2 separate regions of the Homo sapiens genome follow, and region 1 is linked to region 2. Evidence: promoter capture Hi-C in 16 types of primary human blood cells and fetal thymus (Javierre and others, 2016). All regions are on one chromosome and are shown on one strand. Each heading gives the region's core, a stretch centred on a gene start or on the middle of the fragment in contact. The rest is flanking DNA. Distances are from core to core; before and after follow the strand shown. Region 1 overlaps SARS1 (seryl-tRNA synthetase 1). Region 2 holds the start of PSMA5 (proteasome 20S subunit alpha 5).

What was found. The method cuts DNA at HindIII sites, captures the fragments that hold promoters and counts their contacts. A CHiCAGO score of 5 or more calls a contact.
Region 1: a fragment that was not itself captured here is called in contact with the fragment with the promoter of PSMA5 in region 2 in 2 of 17 cell types (fetal thymus and neutrophils); the score reaches 5.9 in fetal thymus.

What each region holds. Positions count from the first base shown.
Region 1 is chr1:109,216,810-109,219,963 of GRCh38, reverse strand. The region is part of intron 1 of SARS1 (seryl-tRNA synthetase 1); the gene reads right to left. Among named protein-coding and RNA genes, the nearest start is that of SARS1, 4.5 kb to the right of the region's middle. The HindIII fragment of the contact is 3,724 bases long and covers 1-3,154 here.
Region 2 is chr1:109,425,126-109,428,250 of GRCh38, reverse strand. It overlaps PSMA5 (proteasome 20S subunit alpha 5), which reads left to right and starts at 1,803. Exons shown (of 9, transcript NM_002790.4): 1 at 1,803-1,949. The coding sequence starts at 1,921. RefSeq lists enhancers at 1,243-1,302, 809-1,740. The HindIII fragment of the contact is 5,034 bases long and covers 179-3,125 here.

The DNA of each region.
Region 1 (3,154 bases), core at 579-3,078, 210 kb after region 2:
TTATCCAAATGTCATGCAGTAAATATGCTAGTAGAATTGATTGGCATATTTACATAATGGAGTATTATATAGCAATGAAAAGAACCAACTACTGCTACATGTTAATAACATGGATGAATCTTACAGACATAATCTTGAAAGAAAGAAGCCATGCCGGGCGCGGTGGCTCATGCCTGTAATCCCAGCATTTTGGGAGGCCAAGGCGGGTGGATCACAAGGTCAGGAGATCAAGACCATCCTGGCTAACATGGTGAAACCCCAGCTCTAATAAAATACAAAAAAAATTAGCCAGGCATGGTGGTGGGTGCCTGTCATCCCAGCTACTCGGGAGGCTGAGGCAGGAGAATGGTGTGAGCCCGGGAGGCGGAGGTTGCAGTGAGCTGAGATCACGCCACTGCACACCAGCCTGGGTGACTGAGCAAGAATCTGTCTCAAAAAAAAAAAAGAAAGAAGCCATATGCAAAAGTATATACTACATAAGTCCATTTATATGTAGTTCAAAATCAGGCAAAGGAATTTATGGTGATGGAGGTAAGAATACTATTATTTTTGGAGGAGGGGCTGACTGGGAGGTGGCATAAGGCAATCTGCTGGTGTGCTGTAAATGTCATATATATATATATATATAGTGTGTATATAAATATATAGTGTATATATATACTGTATATGTACACTATATATATATATATATATATATATATGGAGAGTCTTGCTCTATCGCCCAGGCTGGACTGCAGTGGTGTGATCTCGGCTCACTGCAAGCTCCGCCTCCTGGGTTCATGCCATTCTCCTGCCTCAGCCTCCCAAGTAGCTGGGACTACAGGCGCCCGCCACCACACCCGGCTAATTTTTTGAATTTTTAGTGGAGATGGGGTTTCACCGTGTTAGCCAGGATGGTCTCGATCTCCTGACCTCATGATCCGCCCGCCTCGGCCTCCCAAAGTGCTGGGATTACAGGTGTGAGCCACCACGCCCGGCCTAAATGTCTTATATTTTGATCTAAGTGTTACATTGGTGTATATATTTAGAAAACTCATCAACCTGTACACTAAGATTTGTGTACTTTACTGTATCTATGTCAATAAAAATAAGTTTTTGAAGGGTATATACAGGAATAGTATAAATGCTGTAAGAGATTTGTAAGATAATATAAGGAGAGCACTCAATAAATGAGGTGGCACTACAACAGTAGTTGAGTGCCAAAGAGGGCCGTTGGAAGTGGGAGTGGCACACCCTGATAAGGAGCATTCCAGGAAGAGGCAACAGTCACAGAAGTGTGAAAGAGTCTAGGAGTAGCAATAAGCTAGAGCAAAGAGCGGGAGGCCCTATGTGGGAAGTGGTAGACAGCGAGGCCAGGAAGGCATGGGGGACTTTGTAAATTGTGTTCAGGAATTTGGATTTTTATGCTTTAAGGCTGTACTGTCCAATATAGTAGCTTTTAATACCATGTGACTATGAGCATTTGAAATTTGAAATGAGCACCTGAACAGAGTGGTGCTTTAAGTGTAAAACATACTTTGGAGTTTGAGGACTTGTACCAAAAAAAAAAAAAAAAAAGTAAAATATCTCAGTAGTTTCAGTAATTTTTTTTTTTTTTCAGATGAAGTCTCACCTTGTCCCCCAGGCTGGAGTGCAATGGCACGATCTCAGCTCACTGCAACCTCCGCTTCCCGGGTTCAAGCAATTCTCCTGCCTCGGCCTCCCAAGTAGCTGGGATTACAGGCGCCCGCCACCACGCCTGGCTAATTTTTTTTTTTTTTTTTTTTTTTTGGAGACAGAGTCTCTCTGTGTCACCCAGGCTGGAGTGCAGTGGCATGATCTCAGCTCACTGCAAGCTCTGCCTCCCGGGTTCACGCCATTCTCCTGCCTCAGCCACCCGAGTAGCTGGGACTACAGGCGCCCCCCACCATGCCCGGCTAATTATTTTTGTATTTTTAGTAGAGATGGGGTTTCACCGTGTTAGCCAGGATGGTCTCGATCTCCTGACCTTGTGATCTGCCTGCCTCGGCCTCCCAAAGTGCTGGGATTACAGGAGTGAGTCACCGCACCGGGCTAGTTTCAGTAATTTAAAAATACTGATTATGTGTTGAAAATATAATTTCGGGGCTGGGCGTGGTGGTTCACACCTGTAATCCCAGCAGTGTGGGAGGTCGAAGTGGGAGGATCACTTGAGTCCAGGAATTCGAGACCAGCCTGGGCAACAAAGTGAGACTCTGTCTCTACAAAAAATTAAAAATTAGCTGGGCATGGTGGTGCACACCTGTGGTCCCAGCTACTTAGAAGGTTGAGGTGGGAGGACCAGTTGAGCCCAGGAGGTCCAGGCTGCAGTGAGCTGTGATCATGCCACTGCATTCCAGCCTAGGCAACAGAACAAGACGCTGTCTAAAAATAATAATAATAATTATATATATATTTATATATATATAACTTTTGGGTATACAAGACTAGGTTAAATAAAATGTATTACTAAAATTAATTTCATCTGTTTCTCTTTATATTTTTTATATTGGATACAAACAAATTAACAATTACAGACTATCGCCAACTTATAATGCTTAAACTTTATGATCAATAGTAATAAATTACATGAGATATTCACACTTTATTATAAAATAGGGTTTGTGTAAGATGATTTTTCCCAACTGTAGGTTAACATCAGTGTTCTGAGCACATTTAAGGTAGGCTTGGCTAAGCTATGATATTCAGTAGGGTATGTGTATTTCATGCATTTTTTACTTACAATATTTTCAACTTATGGTGGATTTATTGGGACATAAACCCATCCTAAGTCAAGGAGCATCTGTATACATGAAGCTAACATTCTATTCCTATCAGACAGTGCTGCTCTAAAGTATGTCACTGCAAAACTTAAGCCTTCAAGTAAAATGATCAGATTTGCATTCTAGAAAGATTATATGCCCTGGTGAGACTGGGTTAAGATTGAAAGCAGATAGAAAGCTATTCCAGTTGCTGGGGCAAACAATGATAAGGACCTGTTTTAAAACATGTGCAGTAAAGGTTATGAGGAAATAACAGCTTTAGCCTGGGCATGGTGACTCATGCCTGTAATCCCAACACTTTGGGAGGCCGAGGTGGGAGGATCGCTTGAGGCCAGGAGTTTGAGGCCAGCCTAGGCAACATGACGAAACTCCAT
Region 2 (3,125 bases), core at 554-3,053:
GCTGGTCTTGAACTCCTGACCTCGTGATCCACCCACCTCGGCCTCCCAAAGTACTGGGATTACAGGCGTGAGCCCCTGTGCCTGGCCATAAAAGAACTTCTAAAGAGCAGCTGTAGTGAATTTACGACCAAGACTTTTCCATAGAAAATAACTGATAAGGTGAAAAAAAAAAAAAGCTTGTCAGAAAGCTGACAAGAAAGCTAAAAATTACCATTCTTTTCTCAGAAATCTAACAGATCCCAGAGGATTGCTACTTGGAGTTCTTCCTCAGTTTTATTAGTGCTAAACATCTGATTGGCCAGGGATGACCAAACTAAACTCCTACTGAATCCATGAAGGAAGTCAGAAAATAAAGGGTGGGGAAAACTAATCTTGGTTAATACTCAAAAGGCTTATTTTTACATTTCCTGCACCTTTGAAATGCCTTGGTGACTTACAAACCTAATCTAGGACCAAGAATGAACTTTACTGGAGAGATACAGGCCTTGAGAGGTTAAGGACTTGACTAGTGGTATCACATTAACAACTGGAAATGAGATGCTGGCATTTCCCTTTCCAGCATATACTGCCTGATAAATGATTTCTTTCCCCCGACTCCAGCTTTAAGGTGTAAGTGACAAATAGAAATTGTTCATGTTTATGGTATACAACGTGACGTTTTGATATACATATATATACACACACACACTGCAAATAATTAAATGAAGCTAATCAACATAATCCATCATCTCACATACTTTCCTGTGGTGAGAACATTTAAGGTGTACCCTCTTCACAATTTCAAGTACACAATATATGATTATTAACTATAGAACTCATCCACCTTCTCTGACTGAAACTTTGTATCATTTGACCAACATTTCCCTATATTCCCCACCCCCGTGCCAAGACTTCTTACTTGCCTTTCTTGAACAAATACTTGAATTACAGTGTTATTACGAAGCTGCAAAGTTGCTCCTCAAGCAACTTATTGAAGGGAAGCAAGAAGCGTCGAAAAAGAAAGCGCTTTTTTTTTTTTTTTTTTTTTCGGATAGGGTTTGGCTGTTGCCCAGGCTGGAGTGCAATAGCACGATCTGGGCTCAAAGAAAACACTTATTTTTCACAAACAACAGAAAAAGCAGTGAATATTTTGAAGTCTGGATCCTGAACTCTAGGTTATTTAGGTCTGAAACCTGTACTAGGGGGAGGGGTGCAAGAAAGAGTTGATAAAATTACCTTAACCATGTGGAAACTTTAAGACTTTCTTACATACTAACCCCTCGCCCCCCACTTTTCTCAATAAACGAGCCAAACTGGCTGAAACGAAGGGACTCGTCCGCGGCGCCGGCTCAGACCCACTGTAGCCGACTCATTACCGCCCAAAGTCCTGGAGCCCTCGACCGGGCATGGAGAACACCGTGGAGGAACCCTAAGAGAGGGAATCCTGCGAAGAGAAGTCAGGTGGTGGCCTTGCCGGAAACGGGACCAAAGTCCTCTAGCTGGGATTACGGGAGCCGGCGAGGGACCTATTATGTCAGGGTTCAGACAACCCAGCTCTGCATGCAAGCCTTTCCAATTGCCAGTCTTGGGGCGGGCTCACATCTTCTCTACAAGGCGAACTCACTACACGCCTTGGGTGCCTATCGTCCCTAGCAACCACCCGCGATTTAAGGCGGAAGTACCTCCCTGGTCCTCCTCCTCCTCCGGACCAACCAAGCCCTCGTGAGGAAGCGCGTTGGCCCAATCACCTAGGCGGGAACTACTACCAGCCAATAGGAAGCAGGCACAGGAGGGCGGGCTAAAGAGGTCGCGGTCGCACGCGCAGTTGGTCCTTAGTACTGCGGCCGTGTGGGTGAGTTGGCTGCCGGTGAGTTGGGTGCCGGTGGAGTCGTGTTGGTCCTCAGAATCCCCGCGTAGCCGCTGCCTCCTCCTACCCTCGCCATGTTTCTTACCCGGTCTGAGTACGACAGGTCCGTGCAGCTGGGGGACGTCGGGTGGGAATTATGGGTGGGCAGGCCCGGGACCTGGCCGCGCGGCCTGGGTTCTGCCGTGTCATGGGGCTCCCCAGGAACCCGAGACTGGCCGGACCTGGGGATGTTATGCCCTCCTCAGGCGCCCGCCGTCCTTCCCCAAGCTAGACCACATCGGCGGCACTTGTCCTACCGCTGAGTCACCCCTGGGTCCTAACTCGGTGCGGAAGCGAGAAGCTCCGGCTGGTGCTTGGTAAAGAAGGCGTGAGGAGCCGGAACTCCTACCTTGAACCCGGAGAAGGCCAAGGGTCACTCTTTGCTCCGTTCATCTTTTCGTGCCTAGTATGACTGCCTTGAACAAACAAACAAAAAGTTAAACGTGCTTCCTGGAAGAAAAAGCAACTGGTTTGTAGTAGGGCATGCTGCGGTGTATAGTTTCTTCAGAAGCGCGAAGGCAGTCGTAGCTTTGGCTGGATATATTGTCTGGAGTCTGATTTTATAGGAACTGGAATTTAGAATGGTTTTCAAGAGATTTCTCATCATGCCGATTCCAATTGACCAAAATTTTTTCTGACTTTTTAAAAGTTTAAAGCAAGTTTTAAAAAACTTTTGTGGTATGAAAATGTTCACAATATTAAGTTGTACATATATATGCTGTAGACATTTTTACTTTCAGTTTCTGTTTTCGTCAGTTAAGTTTTTACATAGCTACTCTTTTTTAAAGTCAGGGAAGGCAGACATTTTCTTTGTACTGAGTGGTATGAGATGCTGCATTTCCTGTCAAGTATATGCTGATCCTGTCGAAGTTTTACCACCTGCAGTTACCACTTTTTCATCTTTTTTACTGACTCGTAGAAGATGTGTGTGAAGTTTTGACATATTTCCCCACTGTCCTATAAAGTGACTTTGTTGGTCGATATTTAACTTCCAGAACATTGAAGAGAATCATCTTCGGGTGACATAATTTTGAGTTAGGGTGTGTATGATAGAAATTGTTATGCTTATCAGAAGGCATTTATTAAATTTTGTGGCCATTTACTTAACATATGTATTGACTGCTTTGTTACTTATTTTTCTGTCTTCCCAAGACGGCCTAAAATACATCCCTTTTTATTCTCTTAGTTAATGTGCTTGAGTGCTTGCTGTGAACAAGGCACTGTTCTAGGTGCTGGTGCT